3 separate regions of the Homo sapiens genome follow, and regions 1 and 2 are each linked to region 3. Evidence: promoter capture Hi-C in human tissues and cell types (Jung and others, 2019). All regions are on one chromosome and are shown on one strand. The core of a region is centred on a gene start or on the middle of the fragment in contact, and the rest is flanking DNA. Distances in the headings are between cores, read along the strand shown. Region 1 has its middle 14 kb from the start of RECK. Region 2 has its middle 3.2 kb from the start of ARHGEF39. Region 3 holds the start of IL11RA (interleukin 11 receptor subunit alpha).

Region 1 (3,576 bases), core at 513-3,012, 1.4 Mb after region 3:
GGAAGGGGTCAGATCACAAAGCAGAGCTCGGAGGAGATGGATTTCTACAGAGTTTGTATGGTTTTCAAGCACAGGGTAAAATAAAGCCAACTGCAAAACCTCTGGATTGTCAACAAGCTTATGATGACCCAGGATAAATCACATGTGAGCACCTAGAAATCCGAAAGAGAGATTTTTAGTTCCCTGAAAAAAGCAAGGGAAATCTCAGGACCAGCCTCAGAAGCAAGTCAGTGTCTTTCGTGAGAGCTGATGGGGAATGAGGAGGAGGGAAGTTCAGAGATAACTGAACTTCAACTTGGCCAAAACGTGCAGGAGGCCCCTTGCTATCCAGTCATAGAGGCTCACTGGTGAAGTGAAATTTACTTAAAGGTCAGTAAAAGTTTAAAGTCTTGGCACTGGAGTTACAGGGTACCTGGGACTGACTCCTGGCTGATATCACCAGAGCAGAGGAGTTCTTGGCCCATCTGCCCTAAGGGAAGGGAAGAGACTAAATGTCATCAGTCACCTGCCCTTCTATGGGGACATCATCAACCACTTGACCTGTGAGGTCCTGGCTGTCCTGAAGTTGGCCTGTGCTGACATCTCTATCAACATGATCAGGCAAAAGGCCTTCTCCACCTGCTCTGCCCACCTCACAGTTGTGGTCATCTTCTACAGGACCATCCTCTTCACGCATGGGAAGCCCAAGTCGAAGGACCCACTGGGGGCAGACAAGCAGGATTTTGCAGACAAACTCATCTCCCTCTCCTATGGAGTGGTCACCCCCATGCTGAACACCATCATCTACAGCCTGAGGAAAAAGGGTGTGAAGGCTGCTGTGAAGAACCTGGTATTTCAGAAACCCCTAACTGAATGACAGACTGTCAGAATCCCAGGTGGCCAGAACATATGATCTCTAAGCACCTCACTGTGCTCATGGGGAAATGATAACTCAGAGGAAAGAAGGGACTTTCCCAAGGTCCAGGCCATGAACCATGGGACTAGGACGAACAAGTAAACTGAGTGTCCCCTGTTGTGTCACAAGTAATGGAAGCTTCTATCAAAGGACCTAGAGGGAAAGTGCCCCCACATTTCTACTTTTAATTTCCCATTGCCCCATTTCCTTACCTATCTATTTTTAATTTTTTGGCCTTGAATACATTTTTGGGTTACCACAAATCCTTTCTGACATGAGAGTAGGCATAATTGCAACCAAAGAAACAAAGCAACAAAAAAGCAAACAAAAAACCCAAATGAACTAATGACAAGACATGGCAGTGGGGGTTGGGGTGGGGGCTGGCCGTCGGAGCCCCTCCGTGGACCTTAGCTGTTTCTCTCCCCTGCTAGAAGCTAGTTTTAGACTGCATGGCTTTGAGGTCCTTTCAAAGTTGACCTTCCAAGGCAGTGATTCTAGCCACAGGACCTTGAGTATTGTGGTGTATTAGGCCATTCTTGTACTGCTATAAAGAAATACCTGAGACTGGGTAATTTATAAAGAAAAGAAGTTTAACTGGCTCATGGTTCTGCAGACTATACAAACATGGCTCCAGCATCTGCTTAACTTCTGGGGAGGCCTCAGGGATCTTTTACTCATGGCAGAAGGTGAAGTGGGAGCAGGCACTTCACATGGCCAAAGCAGGAGTGAGTGAAAGAGAGAGAAAGATAAAGAGAGAGAAAGAGAGAGAGAGCAGGCAGGAGGTGCCACACTTTACAACAACTGAATCTTGGGAGAACTCACTATCACAAAGACAGCACCAAGCCATGAGGAATCTGCCCGTGATCCAAACACCTCCCACCAGGCCCCAGCTCCAGCACTGGGGATTACAATTCAATATGAGTTTTGGGTGAGGAAAGTATCCAAACTATATCATGTGGAAATACCACTGGCCATCCGAATTGAATTATTATAACAGCAGCTTCTAGCACTTCCAGAGAAAACAAGATAGCTGTTCAAAGAGCATCTGAGGGGAGGGAGTGGAGAGGCAGCCGCTCAGGTCAGCATAGACCACAGAGTGCTTTCAGCCCAGGCCAGGCAGCCTGACACCTGCCTTCCAAGTCCAGCCCTAACACTATTTCCCGCTGCTGAGCACTTGGCTAAGTCTCCTTCCTTCTCTGGGCCTTGATTTCTTTGTCTGTAAAATGAGAGCGTATAGCCCGTCCCTGTCACTAGCCAATACAACTGGGGACTGCCAGAGAGGGGGAACTCATGGCTCGCACCCCACCACCCGCCACTCTTTGATTAGGGGTCTCCTCTGGGGTCGCCCCTCCATTCATTCCCTCCACAGTTCGTGAGCAATTGTTCCTAACTTCCAGTGCCACTTACAGAATTGGGTGGCTGGTTGCAGCTCTAGCTACCTGTGCCTGCTGCAAACCTGCCACCTGGTGGACATTGCTGAAGCTGACAATTGAAATTTCTGCAAGCTCCTGAGATAGGTGCTTCTCAAACTTGAATGTTTTCATGAGTTATCTGAGAATGTGGATAAGGATTCGGTGAGTCTGAGGTAGGGTCTGACATTCTACATCTCTAACAGATTTCCAGGTAATGTCTATGCTGCTGAACTCTGCAGGCCACGCTTTGAGGAGCAAAGCCCTAGAAGATGTGGGACCAGGGCAGGAGGGCTGAAGGAAGAGGCAGGGTAGGAAGACGTCCTCGCGCAAGTCTCCTACTGTGAGCCAAGCCCTTGGGCATCAGCAAGCCTGTGAGGTGTTCATCAGCCCGGCAAATTCCCTCATAGCAAAAGCCTAAAATGTCAATGCTTTTAAGTCTCTGGGTTGCAGATTTCACTTAATTTTTGGCCTTTGAGTATCCCTTAGTTTCTGGAAAGCTCATCAGTACCTTTTAAAAAAATGTTTTTACATTTTATTCAGCATGCTCAGTTGTGTTTCACACTCAGCAAGACGAGAATACTCAGAGAATCTAATTGTTCATGCTGCCAGAAGAGATACCCTTGACCAGTGTGGTTTTATATTCCCAAAATCAAGTTGCCCATTTGCTCCCCCTATTCAATCAATAGTTTCATTAATTCATGGAGATGAACAAAGACTCCCTAGAATGAAACGTTTGTTTTTCTCTTAGAGTGTCAAATTAGACAATAATCTTAAAAATTAGGCTTTCTGGCCAGGCATGGTGGCTCACACCTGTAATCCCAGCATTTTGGGAGGCCAAGGCAGGAGGATCACCTGAGGCCAAGAGTTTCAGACCAGCCTGGGAAACATGGTGAGACCCCATCTCTACAAAAAAATTTAAAACTAGCTGGGTGTGACAGCACACACCTGTGGTCCCAGCTACTTGGAAGGCTGGGGCAGGACCACTTGAGCCCAGGAGTTCAAAGCTGCACAGAGTGAGCCTTGATTGCACCACTGCACTCCAGCCTGGGCAACAGAGTGAGACCTCATCTCAAAAAAATTAGGCTTTCTGAGAGAAAAGAGAGTTTTTAAAAATCCAGAATTTCTCTTTTATAGATTAAGAGCAAAATTGGGGGTTATCAGCAGTTTGGGTTTACCTTTATCTTTACTAAAAGGTATAGGCAAGAGAATTCACGATATAATAATTAAGGTTTCCAATGTCCTTAGGGAGAAATGGAGTGCTTTCTTAGC
Region 2 (3,731 bases), core at 140-2,639, 1.0 Mb after region 3:
AGCCCAGGTGATGAGAGTAGACCACAACACCTGGGGTGCAGTTGGTGATGGGTGTGTTTGTGAATGCTGCCAGTGTGTGTTAGTGCTTTGGGTGGGTGGAAGAGGGGTGGGGAATAGAGCCTCCTGTGAGCATCGGTTGGGGAATCATTCAACTCTAGAAGAGGAAGAGGGCAAAGCCGAGAAGACACACTGAAAACAGTTGGTGACAACTAATTCCCTGGGGACCGAGTCTCCCACAGAGCAAGTCAGGCACACCATACTCTACCTGGAACAGCTGCTAAACTCCGCTCCCACAGCCAAAGATAGGAGGGGCCAACAGGAGGAGGTTCAGAGGATAGTCAATAACCCCTTTATTCTTTAATTATCCTCAAATTTTGCTTTCAATCCGATGGATGCTGGAGAAGCACTAGGGATGCTTTGAACAACAATCATCAGTCATTCAACAAAATTAGGCTGGGCATGGTGGCTCACGCCTGTAATCCCAGCACTTTGGGAGGCTGAGGCAGGCGGATCACCTGAGGTCGGGAGTTACAGTTACAATGGCTGTGTGCTTCTTTATGTGTTGTCAGAGACCAGCCTGACCAATGTGGTGAAACCCCGTCTCTACTAAAAATACAAAATTAGCCGGGCATGGTGGCACGTGCCTGTAATCCCAGCTACTTGGGAGGCTGAGGCAGGAGAATCGCTTGAACCCAGGAGGCAGAGGTTGCAGTGAGCCGAGATCATGCCATCGCACTCCAGCCTGGGCAATAAGAGCGGAACTCTGTCTCAAAAAAAAAAAAAAATTAAATGCCAATCATGTGCCAGGTCCTGTGCTAGGCATGAAGATGAAATGGTGGGCAAGAGACATATGACCCCTGCCCACAGGGAGCTTACACTCCAGCATGGCAGATACAGTAAGGAGTCACCATAAAATGAGGAAACATTACAAGAGACATGTAGTCTTCTACACAAGCATGCAGTGAAGGGACTGATCCTAGTGTAGGAGTCAGGGAAGGCTTCTTCTCAAAGAAGTGATATGTGAACTGATGACCTGAAGGATGAATAAAACCTGGCTAGGCAGAGCTGGGCGCTGGCAGCAAGGGAAGTGGAAAAAAGAGTCAAACAGCATGGACAAAGGCTTGGACACACACATATGCAAGCATACGATGAATTTAAGGAACTGCTAGAAGTTCTGTAAGATGAGAGCATAGACTGCAAGGGAGAGAGTGATGACAAAGGAGACTGGAGAGGTAGACAGAGGCCAAACTTAGAAGGAATTTATATCAGTAAAATTGTGATATAAGTAATAATAAATTCAAAGTGGCTAAACATTAAGATAATTTATTGGCTCATGCAACTGAAAAGTCCAGAAGCAGGTGGGCCCTAGTGTTGGCCTAATCCAGCAGCTCAATCATGTTACCAAGGACCTCTTTCCACCACTCCACTGTGCCTTCCATGGTTTTACCTTCATCTTAAGGCTGGCTTCCATTGTGGGTACAAGATGGCTGCCCACAGTTACAATGGCTGTGTGCTTCTTTATGTGTTGTCCGCAGAGTTGGTTCCCTTAGCCATCAAATACTTCAGACAGAGAGCTTCACTGATTGGACCTCCCTAGGTCACAAGCCCACCATGGAAACCAGGGCAATGGCGGCCCTCTGAAGGCCACGTCAGGTACTGTGAACCTTATCCTAAGGGCAATGGGAAACCATTGAAAGGCCTTAAACAGGGAGTGAGATCATCAGATGTGCCATTTTAGAAACATCACTCTGGTTGGCTGGACTCAGCAAGACCCATCAGGAGGCAGTTGCAGTCATCCAGGTAAGAGGTGACGAAAGTATGAGCCAAGATGAAAAATGTAGATGAAAAATTTAGAAGGTAGAATCCATAGGGCATGGTTATTGAATGCTAGGGTGAAGGAAAAGATGAAAGTAGAGATGGTACCAGGTTTCTGGCTTCTAGGTGGAGGGTGGTGCTATTCACTGAAGGAGGATGAAAAGGAGATTTGCGGGGAAGACAAATTCAACCTGGGGCCTGTTAAACTTGAAATACTTGTGGGACATCCAAGTGGAGATGTCTTGGGTCTTGTCTATTAGGCAGATGGTTATGGGTCTGGCATGGGGAGAGAGTCCAGCCTGGGAATACTTGGGTGTCATCAATTTATAGGAGCCATGGGAGTGGATGACACGGCCTTGCAAAGATAAGTAGCAGGATAAGGGCAAAAGCATGAGAGTCTTCAATACGAACTCATCCCTTCTCATCCTGTGCGTCCACGTCAGTTCCCCTGCACTGATGGTGGACTAAATGGTGGCCCCATATAAAGACATGTCCATGTCCTAATCCCCAAGACCTGTATATGTGACCTTGTTGGGAAAAAGGGTCTTTGCAGACATAATTAGTTAAGGATCTTGAGATGAGATCATTCTGGATTATGTTGGTAGGCCCTAAATCCAATGACAAGTGTCTCAGTGAGAGACACCCAGTGGAGACACAGGGGCAAGAGAAGGCCATGTGAAGTTGGAGTAATGCAGCTACAAGTCAAGGAATGCCTGGAGCCGCCAGAAGCTAGAAGAGGCAAGGAAGGATTCTTCCCCAGAGCCTTCAGAGAGAGTCCAGTCCTGTCAAAACCTTGATTTCAGACTCTGGCCTCCAGAACTGTGAAAAAATCCATTTCTGTTGTTTTAAGCTACCCACTTGGTGGTAATTTGTTACAGCAGCCCTTGGAAATGAATATAGATGGGGAGGTAGCCAGAACTACAAGTCAGCCTCAAGGTTCTACAAGGAATTTGATCAGTCTTTGCCCCCAAGCTATGGCTTGGGAGAGGGAGCATTTTCCCTTCTACCCCACCAGTGAATAGTTTCCTCCTCTGCCATGCTGGGATAGGCAGAGACATGTTTTAGTAACATGACCCCTCAGTGTTTGAAAACACAAACCCTCATGAGCAAACACTTGGCCTATAATAACCACAGAGAGGTCCTGATCCAGGTGTGGGGTGCCCTGGTCAGTCAGTCCTGAGTATACTCTGTCCCAACCCGGGGAGACTCAGGAAACAATAACTCAAACCTGTTTGAGGGTTTGGCAGACTCCCAGCATGATCCAGGGTCAGAGTCCACATTCTCCACTCAGACCAGAGACGAGAGAGACAGAGAAACAGAGCCATAGGGAATCGCATTTGAAAAATGAGTGAGCTGTAACAGAGAGCTGGATTAGTCGTTACCACATTCTGTCTTGTATAGGCCCATCCAATTCAGATATTACCATGTACTTCCATATGTCAGGGGCCAAGCAAGTTCCAAGCTAATGACAGAGCTGACCAAGACAATCAGCTGGCCATCCAGAGTGTACCCTGGACCACACTGCCATGGAGAGCTCTGAATTTGGCTCCAGAAATGGCACCCTAGAATCTTAGGCTGACTACATCTGAGGTTGACCATTTGGAGGACAGCTGTTATTCAGTCATATATATTTTGTTGTACAATATGACAGTCATCCGACAACACAGATGATTTGGAGTGCCACAAAAATGTGGTGTTGGGCCAGGCATGGTGGCTCACGCCTATAATCCCAACTCTTTTGGAGGCTGAGGTTGGAGGATCACTTGAGGTCAGAGGATCACTTGAGGTCAAGAGTTCAAGACCAACCTGGGCAATATAGCGAAACCCCATCTCTACAAAACAAATAAAAAAATTAGCCAGGGGTGGTGGCTTGTGCCTGTGGTCCTAGCTACTCAGGAGGCTGAGGCAGGGGGATC
Region 3 (2,944 bases), core at 301-2,800:
AAGCTAAAGGCATAGCTCCAGCTACAACTTTTCTTTGTCTACAGATGTGTAAAATCTTGATGCAAAAATCTACCCCAAATTTCTGAACAAAATTAATATTCAGTATTATATCTAGCCTATAGATTCTCTTACTCTTGGTGTAATGACAGCATTCCCAGTTTAGGAAACTGTTTTAAAATCTTGTGTCTTGGTTGTGGCTGAGGCTTTGGGAAGGCCAGAGCCCCCTTTGCCACCACCCCTAGGGTGTCAGCTCCAAGCCTGGGCCTGAGGGTTTGATGGGGAGCGGGTGAGCTGGATCCTGATCCCAGTGGTCAGTGGCCAGATCCTGGGCTGCTGGCCAGAACCCTGGCTTTGTGAGTGGCTGCAGCTTGGCTCTGCTCCAGCCCACAGGGGCTAAAGGGGCGGGTAGGGAGTGTGTAGGGAGCGTGTACGTGGCTTTGTGTCCTTGGCTCCTCCAGACTCTCACATGTGCGGGCACCATATACTTCTGCTGCCCTTGTGCCCCAATCATTGCACAAACAGAAACAGCTCTGACAGAGAAGGGACTGCTAGAGTTAGGAACCCTAGGGCCTGGAAGGAAGGTATGGCTCTCAGAGTGACCTGGGGTCTATTCAGTCCCCTCTGGACCTGTTTCCCTGGCAACGCTGTGGGAACAACAGTCTATGCAACACAGGAGACCTGATGCCACTGGTGTCCTCCAAATTTTAAGGCGAAGGCAGGCATTGTGAATGATGCAGGGATGGCCAGAATGGTTTTTGCCTTCGTTCTTTCCCCAGGGGAACCAAGCCTGTGGGTGGGGAAATCACACTAAGGCTGGACAGTGACTGAATCTGGCCCAGGAGAAACTTGGCTGCCTGCCTTCCAGACCAGGGTTTTTCTTCCCTGAGATCCTGGAGGGGAAGTACCTGGAACTTGGGAGTGTTGCCCTGGTCTGGAAGATCTGATAGACATAGTATGCACACATTTCCCTCGAGCTTCCCATGACTGGGGAGTAGATGAGAACCCTGAGTGGGTGGCTGGTTTCTTGAGGCATACATATACCCGACACACCTTACACCTCTGATTTGGCTGCATTTTGGAATCATCTGGGAAGTTTTAAACAATACTGGTGCCTAGGTCCAACCTCCAGAGACTCTGATTTAATTGGTATGGGGTGGGGTTTTGCAGTTTTCAAACCACAATATCCAGCAAAGTTTGAGAACCACTGCCCTACACAGCCCTCCTTCTTCTTTATCTTATCTGGAGTCAGGGGCACCTTCAGCTTCTCCAATCACCTGGCCAGTGGCTCTTGTTTCCAGTCCTGCTGTTCCAGGGTGGATAGGCCTTCAGGCGGAGACCCAGGAATCCAGCTCCAGACTCTGTCCCAAGCAGCCTCTTCAGTCCGGGACGGGACAGGAAGTGTCCGGCGGAGGTGGGGGTGGAGGTGATTGGCAGTTGGAGTCTCCAATGGGCCAGGAGCCCCCCTATTTCACTCCTCTCCTTCCATTGGCGCCTGGGCGGAGCCACCCCCGCTGCGGGGGCCCAGGGCGGGAGGGAGTAGAGGCCGGGGCAGAGGGCGAGGGCGAGGGCAGAGGGCGCTGGCGGCAGCGGCCGCGGAAGGTGAGGCCTGGTGTAGACGCCAAAGTCTTGTCAGGAGTGGGCGGGGCAGGGTGATGTATGATCTGAAAGGCCGGGAGTGACTAACGACTGTCAGTGTGTATGTGCCTGTGAGGCTGTGTCTGTGTGACAGTATCATTGTGTGCGATTCTGAGTGTCACTTGGTGCAGCTGTCAGCTAATGTGACTGCGTGTGTCAGTGTGCATGGAGCTGGAGGTGCATGTGGCTGTGCAAGTGTGGGATTATGTGTGTATCTGTCAATGCACATTTTTGGTGGGACTGGGTTGTGTGTTTGTGTGAGAGGGACTGTGACCACATGAGGGAATGTGTTTTGGGAAGGTCTCTGTGGGGTTTGAGACCATGTCTGCCAGCGTGAGAGTGGGTGGCTGGCTTTGTGTGTGCCAATGTGTGACTTCAGCAGTAGCAGAGCAAAAGTGAGGTTTGTGACTATGTGTGTGTCCTGGGTCCTAACTTAAACCGTGTGGGAGTACAGCTGTATTCATGTATTGGGGGACCTACCTCAAGAGCCCATGGGACTGACCTTTCTCTTAAGTGTCCAGCATTGACAGACACACCCACAACACACGTGGCTTCCCCTCCTTCCTCTGCTCAAGAATCCCCAGCATCAGGTCTACTGCTCCTTATTTTCTGTTTCCCTGCTTGGCTCAGTTTCCCTTACGTGCCGTTTTCTGTCCCTATTGCTGTCTTACTAGAGATACCTCTGTGTGTTTCTTCACAGCTTTGTTCCCCTGGTCTCTCTGTGTGGGTGCATTTCCAGTTTTGCCTTTCCTTTCTCTCTGTCTCTCTCTGTGCCCCTATGCCTGCCTTCCCTGCTGATCTTGATCTCTGGCTAGTTGGGGGCCTGTAACAGTGATGAGATGCGGGTCTGCCCCGGCTAAGAGCTCCCTGAGAGAGGGGGCTTAGACCATGATGAAGAGTTGCTTTTAGGCGGTGCTGTGAGCCCTGGTAGGGGCTGTGTGCGTGTGTGACTGCGTGAGTGTATGAATATGTGTAAGTGTGTCTGAGTCTGAGGCGGTGTGGCTGTGCCCGTGTGACTGTGAGTGACCGCATGTGAGAGTGTATGAGTCTGAGGGTAACTGTGGGTCTTGTGTATCTGGCACCAAGGGACCAAAGGCATTTCCTGGTGCTGGGGCCCAAAGAATGGAGGGGGAGGTGAGAAATGGCTGGAACTTCCAGGGGAGGGGGAACTGGACTCTTTGGCCTCTCCTTATATCCCCCAACCTGGGGCCTCCCTTCCCCTGGAAGCACAGCCAGCTGTACCCTAAGGAAACATTTGGTGAGGAGTGAAAAGAGGGGGAGTTTGTATCTGATTTTTCATTTGATTGTG

The links. The method cuts DNA at HindIII sites, captures the fragments that hold promoters and counts their contacts. A contact is called where the count stands out against the background at its distance.
Region 1: a contact is called between a fragment that was not itself captured here and the fragment with the promoter of IL11RA in region 3, in 1 of the 25 tissues and cell types used here (spleen).
Region 2: a fragment that was not itself captured here is called in contact with the fragment with the promoter of IL11RA in region 3 in 1 of the 25 tissues and cell types used here (dorsolateral prefrontal cortex).

Annotation. Positions count from the first base shown.
Region 1 is chr9:36,021,263-36,024,838 of GRCh38, forward strand. It overlaps the pseudogene OR2AM1P. Among named protein-coding and RNA genes, the nearest start is that of RECK, 14 kb to the right of the region's middle. The HindIII fragment of the contact is 5,782 bases long and covers 1-3,576 here.
Region 2 is chr9:35,666,541-35,670,271 of GRCh38, forward strand. No RefSeq gene overlaps it. Among named protein-coding and RNA genes, the nearest start is that of ARHGEF39, 3.2 kb to the left of the region's middle. The HindIII fragment of the contact is 9,733 bases long and covers 1-3,731 here.
Region 3 is chr9:34,650,635-34,653,578 of GRCh38, forward strand. It overlaps IL11RA (interleukin 11 receptor subunit alpha), which reads left to right and starts at 1,551. Exons shown (of 13, transcript NM_001142784.3): 1 at 1,551-1,599. GALT (galactose-1-phosphate uridylyltransferase) reads left to right here. Exons shown (of 11, transcript NM_000155.4): 11 at 1-401. RefSeq lists a silencer at 1,507-1,606. The HindIII fragment of the contact is 13,062 bases long and covers 1-2,944 here.